2 separate regions of the Homo sapiens genome follow, and region 1 is linked to region 2. Evidence: promoter capture Hi-C in human tissues and cell types (Jung and others, 2019). All regions are on one chromosome and are shown on one strand. Each heading gives the region's core, a stretch centred on a gene start or on the middle of the fragment in contact. The rest is flanking DNA. Distances are from core to core; before and after follow the strand shown.

Region 1 (3,798 bases), core at 1,266-3,765, 83 kb after region 2:
TTTAAAGTTGATTATTTTGAGAAACAGCAGACACAAGAGAAGCTTTGAAAACAGAAGTTATTCTTTTGTAAGGAAAATTTATATCTATAAAGGAAATCTTCATTTGTAAGGGTATCTCCCTCTCTGTACCAGGAAGAGAAGGATTACTTAATCATTAGAAATTCTTATCAGTGGAAAAGTCATCAGCAAAAATCTGCATAATAAACCTTGTTCTTGTTTAACAGGCCTTTCTTGGCATAATTTTTTTCTTGTCATAACTGAGTCTCTCTCACATACTTCTTTGTATCAGGGAACCATGGTATTTAAGCTCGAAGTCAAAGCCACCTGTTTCAGATCTACTCCAGAGAACTCATTTTTCCCTGAAAATGTATAGATAAGATATACATGTAATTAAACTTCTGTTTTTCTCTTATTAATCTTTTATTACAAAGGTCTGTCCCAACTAAGAACTCATGCAGGGTAGAGAGAAAATCGTGTTTCTTCACCTACAGCTCATTAAATGACTCAAAACAATGTTTAAATAGGAAACCAATGGGGTGTTTAAGCAGGGAAGTAGCAAAAATTGATTTAACAGTATAGGAAAATACTTTTACCTTCAAGGCAGAGAATTTATTATAAATGGGAAAGACTACAAACAAGAACACCAGTTGAAAAGCCACTGCAACAATCTAGGCCTGATTTCAATAATTCAGAACTTATGACAATTTTGACAAGAACATGGCTGAAGTGTCCCTTTATTTTATCTATAAAAGGGATATTTCATGAACACTTAGCACTATAAACAAAATTGTAAGAGAAAGCTTAAACTATTATACAACACAAAATATTTTAAATACCGTGGAAGCAATCACATTCCCACAATTAATGTACTAGTTATAAACTATTACGTACTTTTGAAAGTATGTTCTTGAAAGACTTTCACTGGGCAAGAACTTGTTCAGTAGTTCAAGTATGTGCAATACCTGGCACACAATATGTACTCAATAAATATTTACTAAATAAATCCATACACTCATCATTTCTTTAAAAATAGCACCCCATTCAGATATCACACCAATTTACTGGCTTTACCACCTCCACCTACCACCCTGCCTCCAGTTACTATGGAAAAAAAGTCTTCTATCCATAACATATTCTCATAGAATATGAGCTACAATCCTAGTATATAAATATTTTAAAATAGACCGGAAATTATCTTTGACTTATAAAATTAAACAACATAATTTTAAATCACACAAAATATAGTAGGATTAAAGTTATGAATGTATCTGCAGAGAAGCCAGCAAAAATTCAAGTTGTTTGTTTTCCTAAACATTAGTCATATTGGAAATGTGTTGTGTTAAAAGACAAAATTACAACAAATCTAGTTTTGCAGGCGTTAATTGGCCTTTATTTGTGACTTTAGAATTGAGCAGCAGTTCAGTCCAAAAATGGCTCAGAATGTTCCACCCCACCAAATGTGTAGGTTATATTTGTAACTAGAGAAAAGGAAGTGACATACAGAAAACTGCACTGAGGTACAGAGATAGCCCAATTGGTTATAGTTCACATCTGTCTTATTTGAACATGGTTTGAAGAATTGGCCATCTGTGATTGGCTGAGATTCTGTTCCTAAGTTAGGTTTTCAGTTTGTTTAAGTGCTGAGTTGGGCTGCATTTAGGAACTCACACATAGGCCTCCTTGGGCCCACTTTTAATTTGTTTTAATAGTTGTTCATGTGATTTAAAGGATTTGATTAAACACAGTAAAGAACTTCCTGGTAGTGAGGACAGCTAAAAGAATGAGTGATAAAGAGAAATTTAGCATCTCCCTCTCTAGGAAGCTGTATAAACACACTAACTCCTTATAAGTCTCAGTAAATTTCTATGTAAAATTCATAATGTCATGGGTATAGTTTGAGCTAAAATTTACTTCTGCTAACTATAACTTCTGTTTTTAAGTTTGCAGAGTAAATAAATTAAGTGAACAATATTTTGATGGGGGAACTTAGACTACTGAAGAAAACAAAATGCAATCTGGTACTATTTTAACATAAAATCCGTACAATTAAGAAATATAACAATTATAAATAATTACTTCTTTGCAAAGAAAGTGCTCCCGAAGGTCCTCACCACACCTGAAAGTAATCATACTGCATTTATTTTTAAATAAATCATTATTCAAAGCTTTCACTAATTTTCACTGACATCCTAAAAGGTAAATACTAGTCAGTCTCTTTACATTTTGTTTGTTTGTTTGAGATAGACTCTTGCTCGGTTGCCCAGGCTGGAGTGTAGTGGTGCAATCTCAGCTCACTGCAACCTCCACCTCCCAGGTTCAAGCGATTCTCCTGCCTCAGCCTCCCAAGTAGCTAGGACTACAGGCGCACATCACCACACCGGGCAAAATTTTATATTTTTAGTAGAGACAGTGTTTCACCATGTGGGCCAGGCTGGTCTTGAACTCCTGGCCTCAAGTGATCCTCCTGCCTCAGCCTCCCAAAATGCTGGGATTATAGGCATGAGCCACCACACCTGAATAATTCTTGTATTTTTAGTAGAAACGGGGTTTCGCCATGTTGGCCATACTGGAGTCTCTTTACAGTAAATTCAAAAAGTATCATAAAATAAAACTAGTTTACATTAGAAACAGTAAAAAAGCATGTAAGCAAGTCAGAGTACTGGCTACTAGAAAGTAATTTCAAATACTAGCTATTTAAAGGACCAGGCACCATTGAAAAGGATTGATGCAATATAAAGAGACAGGTGAGATTTAAAAGGAGAGACTACATTTTAAAAGTTGGTCTTTGAAATGCATAGCTCTGAGTGAGAAAAGAAAAGGCAAAAAGAAGGAAGACAAGCCCTGTGGCAATTTGGCAGTGAAGGGAGAAAGAAGAAAAAAAGGAAGAAAAAAATTAGGGTCCTATAAGACAAAAAAAGAACCATAAAATTGGAGGATTCAAAACCCTTCCCCAATCATCATCATTAAAACAAACAAACAAAAGGAAAACTGTTAAATATCTGAACTTTTCTACTTTTTCAGAAGAGGGCACCACTAAATAAGGAATCTGGTAAAATATCCTAATTTCATAAAAACAAATAAGATAAAGATAAGCTATGTCCAGAGAGATAGGAGAGAGAGATGAAAACAAGAAAAGAAGGAAGGAAGGAAGGAAGGAAGGAAGGAAGGAAGGAAGGAAGGAAGGAAGGAAGGAAGGAAGGAGGGAAGGAGGGAGGGAGGGAGGGAGGGAGGGAGGGAAGGATGGAGGGAGGGAGGGAGGGGGAGGAGAGGGGAGGGGAGATGGGGAGGAGAGGGGAGGGGAGATAGGGAGGAAGGAATCAAAAGGTTTTCTAGAGATCCACTGGGAGAATTCTGTTTATACCTCACTGGTCAGAGTGGAGATTGCATGGTGACTTCTAAGTACAAGGGCATCTGAAATAACGATAAATAATTTTTCCCAGCCTATAGTGGAAGGTAAAAAGAGAAAAATGAACTTGGAAACTTTTGGGTAACCAATAAACAGTATGTGTCATACCTCTTCTGTAACTGAAATATATTACTTCCATGCTCACACTTTATTAGTAATTCAGCTAAATGTAAAAGTATAAGCTGAAAATGATACTACCTTAGACTTTTAAAGTCATTGCCCCATTGCCTTCGAGCTTCAATATTGTTAAAAGCCCATTGTTCATTCTACTTCCTGTCCTTTATATGCGACTTGTATTTCCTTTTCTGAAAGGTTGTGGAATCTCTATCTCTGGGGTTCTGAAATTTCTTGGTGAATTGCCCTGGTTTTGAGTCCTTTTTATATTATCAGGT
Region 2 (3,767 bases), core at 1,024-3,523:
TGATACTTTGAACAACACTGAAATAAACTTTTTTATACAATTTGTTAAAGCATGCTTATATTTGTATTTTTATAAGATATATTCCCAAAAGTAAAATCACCTGATCAAACAGCATATATCTTTTTTCTAAAGAAAAACTGAAGACACTTTATTTTTATCATTATTGAAGTTAACAATTGACAAGCCCATTAGAGAAAACATTTTACATAATTTTACATCACTGACTTAGAGCCCACACATACATGACAAAGATAGCTAAAAACATATGAAAAAATATATCTTTGGAAATAAACACAGCATTCCTCTGGCTATGAAACTAAAAAAGTTTGAGACACTTTTTAAACTTGTAGCAGAAGATGCAACAGACTGTCAGCTTCATTTAGCACTGCCTGCACTAATTGTTGTTCACTCGATTCTTTACGAGATATTAGCTTCAGAATATGGACCCTAAAGAATCCACATCTTTGGAATGTTCCATCATAGCTTTGATGATCAAGTCTGAGTCTCCAAAAGCCACTCTCATTTTATAGAAATCTTTCAACTGTTATGCATCATCAGACATGACAACAGGTGTCACAAGAGATATATGCCTTGCCTCCAGCAAATCAATTAGAAGAAAACAAAAATTTCTTTAAAATACAAAGAAAATATAGAGCAAGAGAACAGAATATAAGTCTTCCACTCATATCCTCCAACAGCAACAATAATCTAGCAACCATCCAGGGATGAAAGTTTCTTCTTAGCAGTTTTGTGATTTGGAGGGGACAACAGAGTAGAGAATGCCCACTGCCCCAACCAGAGCCTGGGCATTTGAGATTCTGAAGATTTAAAAAGGGGCTCTGCAGAAAGCTGTGGCAAGCAAAGGATAGGCTAGAGAGAGACAGGACTAATAAATGTGTCGACTTCAGATACATTCTTGTGAAGGACAGCAAAGAATAGGTGGCCTTTTCACCTCCTAGAGAGATAAAACATCGGAGGCCAAGGTAGAATTGGGTGTGTCCTGCCAATCTTTAAATGAATAAGGCTATAGGAGTAGTATTGCTTCCTGAAGTAGTCACAATCTTTTCTTTGCATTATTTTAATTCTATTTATGTAGCATTAAAAACTGAAAAGAAGTTCTATGTAAAATGAGAGCAGAGAAAATCATGTTGTCTGAATTGCAGCCCTAGAAAATTTCATGAACCTATGACTTGTTTTTAATTTTTATCTACAAGTCACATTTGCTCATTTTTAACTACATGCCACATTTTATATGTACCTATGTATACATGTATTTATGTGTACATACCCTTTAATCCTCTAATCCTTGTTAAAAAAAAAATAGCCAGACAGGAATTAATAGTGTAGTTATCCCTATTTTATTAATGAGTAAATCAACGATTGGAAAGGTTAAGTGATTTGCCCAAGGCCACAGAGCTATAGAAGTGATTTGGAATCTCTCATACTCACACTTCAGAGATGAAGATTACTGTCTTCAAAAGGCATGAAGGGTAATTCCTCAAAATTAGACATATACCAGTTTACACTAAGTATCACTTGCTTAATGAAGGAGTTAACTAGACAAAATGAGTGAGATGTTATAATTCTAAGTGACATCAAAATATAGTTGATAGGAAAACTTTTTTTGAAATTCTACTATATTTCATGACTGGGAGTTAGGTGCAGTTTATTTTGTCTAACTGCCAACATAATTTTACCTGGTACTAATTTTACCTGGTTCCTGGTACTAATAGATCAATTTGTGGAATTTTGATCTTTTCTGTGACCACACACTGTACTCAGAAACAAGTAAATATAAGCTTGAGAAATACAGGCCTTTGACCCCAAAATTCCAAGACAGGACATGAAAAGAGAGAGCAGAGAAAAGTCATCCTCCTTATTGGGCTATCTCAATTAAGTAGCTAAGTTTCTACAGTATTTGGAGGACTACTATGAGCTACCCACAAAAGAACTAGGAATAAGGAAAACAAGGTAAACTTTCAAATAACACATAATAAAATGGAGTACAGAACTGCAAAGTCACCTGGGAGAAACTACTTGACTCCCAGGCCAAGGGTCCAAGAGTATAACCAGCAGCTTGTGTTTACCATAATCAAAGGAAAAGTAGAAACTGGGTGGCCATGGGAGACTGGCCTACAGTCCCATCCATCACAGAGGGTTGGCGTGTGCTCACCCATTCAAGGACCAATAAATGAGTATCTCTTTAAGAGCAGCTCCTCCCATTTTTCAACAATCTTCCTAATATGTAGGCTCACTAGAACATTTTCTCTTTCAAACTGCCCAGACGGTTGGACAGGACGTAGACACACAGAAGAAAAGAAGACAAAGAACGGGTAGGAAAATTAAAAAGGTAGGAGGCTGAGGCGGGTGGATCACCTGAGGTCAGGAGCTTGAGACCAGCCTGACCAACATGGTGAAACCAAATCTCTACCAAAGATACAAAAATTAGCCAGGCGTAGTGGTGCATGCCTGTAATCCCAGCTACTTGGGAGGCTGAGGCAGGAGAATCACTTGAATCTGGGAGGCAGAGGTTGCAGTGAGCCGAGATCACACCATTGTACTCCAACCTGGATAAAAGCGAAACTCCGTCTCAAAAAAAAAAAGAAAAGAAAAAGAATAAAAGGTGATATAGTAAAGGGTTGAGGGTGGGATGGGTAAATGAAGAAGGAGCATGCTGTAGTTTTATACCAAATATGGCTAGAATGAGAATGATATAATTCAGGCAGTTTGTTTGTTTCTGGGAATCACGGATCATGATGTTTAATCATCCAAGTCTATTTCCCTGCATAGCTATGTGATTTTGTCTAAAAAGAAAAAAAAAAGTAGTGAAAGAAGTAGTGGTAGAGCCTAAAGACAGTGTCAGGAACAGAAAAAAGTTAGGAAACGTAATTTTCTTAGAGGGGAATGGACGCTGAAGGTAGTGGGAAAAAATTGTTTTTAGGTAAGAACATGACTTCTTTCCCCAACACCCCCCGGAGAGAAGGTCTCACTCTGTCACCTAGGCTACAGTGCAGTGCTGTAACCATAGCTCACTGCAGCCTCAAACTCCTGGGCTCAAGCGATACCCCAGCTCAACAGGACTATATAATCCCAGAGTAGCTGGGACTATAGGTATGCACCATTTACTTGTCTTTTTAATTGAGAAGGTGAAGTACATTATTGATGGGGAGAAGGGGTGACTACCTGGCACACTGAAATACAGACATCTTCAGACCTTGTTCCTCATTATCCGTATCTAAGTAAAAAGAAGATACAGATTGCGTGTGTGTGTGTGTGTGTGTATGACTGTGTGTGTGTATACATATACATATGTGTTTCTTCATTCCCATATACAGGCATATGTATGTGGGTGGGTGGGTGGATGTGTCTACAGGTGTTTTAGTTGCGAATCTTTATTTCTTCTGCTTACTCTTTTTGGTAGACAGTAAATGACAAAGTCCAAAAGCAAAAAAGATAAATATGTATGCTGGGTCATCAGTCTCTTAATTTTGGAGAGCTGATGACTAAAAACAAAGTGCTTATTTTTTTTTCAGAAGAAAACTTTCTCTTTAGAAATTAGAGAGAAATGAAAATGTAGTTAGATCACTAAAAGGAATTTGTTTTCTAGAGACAAGGTCTTACTCTGTCACCCAGGCTGGAGTGCAGTGGTACAATCACGGCTCACTGCAGCCTGGAACTCCTGAACTCAAGTGATCCTACCGCCTCAGCCTCCTGAGTAGCTGGGAGTACAGGCATGTGCCACCACACCCAGCTGATTTTGTTTGTTT

Evidence for each region. Contacts are between HindIII fragments. The study calls those that stand out against the background at their distance.
Region 1: a contact is called between a fragment that was not itself captured here and the fragment with the promoter of FMO3 in region 2, in 5 of the 25 tissues and cell types used here (aorta, mesenchymal stem cells, neural progenitor cells and 2 more).

Annotation. Positions count from the first base shown.
Region 1 is chr1:171,171,741-171,175,538 of GRCh38, forward strand. The region is part of intron 2 of FMO1-AS1 (FMO1 antisense RNA 1); the gene reads right to left. Among named protein-coding and RNA genes, the nearest start is that of FMO2, 12 kb to the right of the region's middle. The HindIII fragment of the contact is 6,992 bases long and covers 1-3,798 here.
Region 2 is chr1:171,088,632-171,092,398 of GRCh38, forward strand. It overlaps FMO3 (flavin containing dimethylaniline monoxygenase 3), which reads left to right and starts at 2,274. Exons shown (of 9, transcript NM_001002294.3): 1 at 2,274-2,350. The HindIII fragment of the contact is 16,457 bases long and covers 1-3,767 here.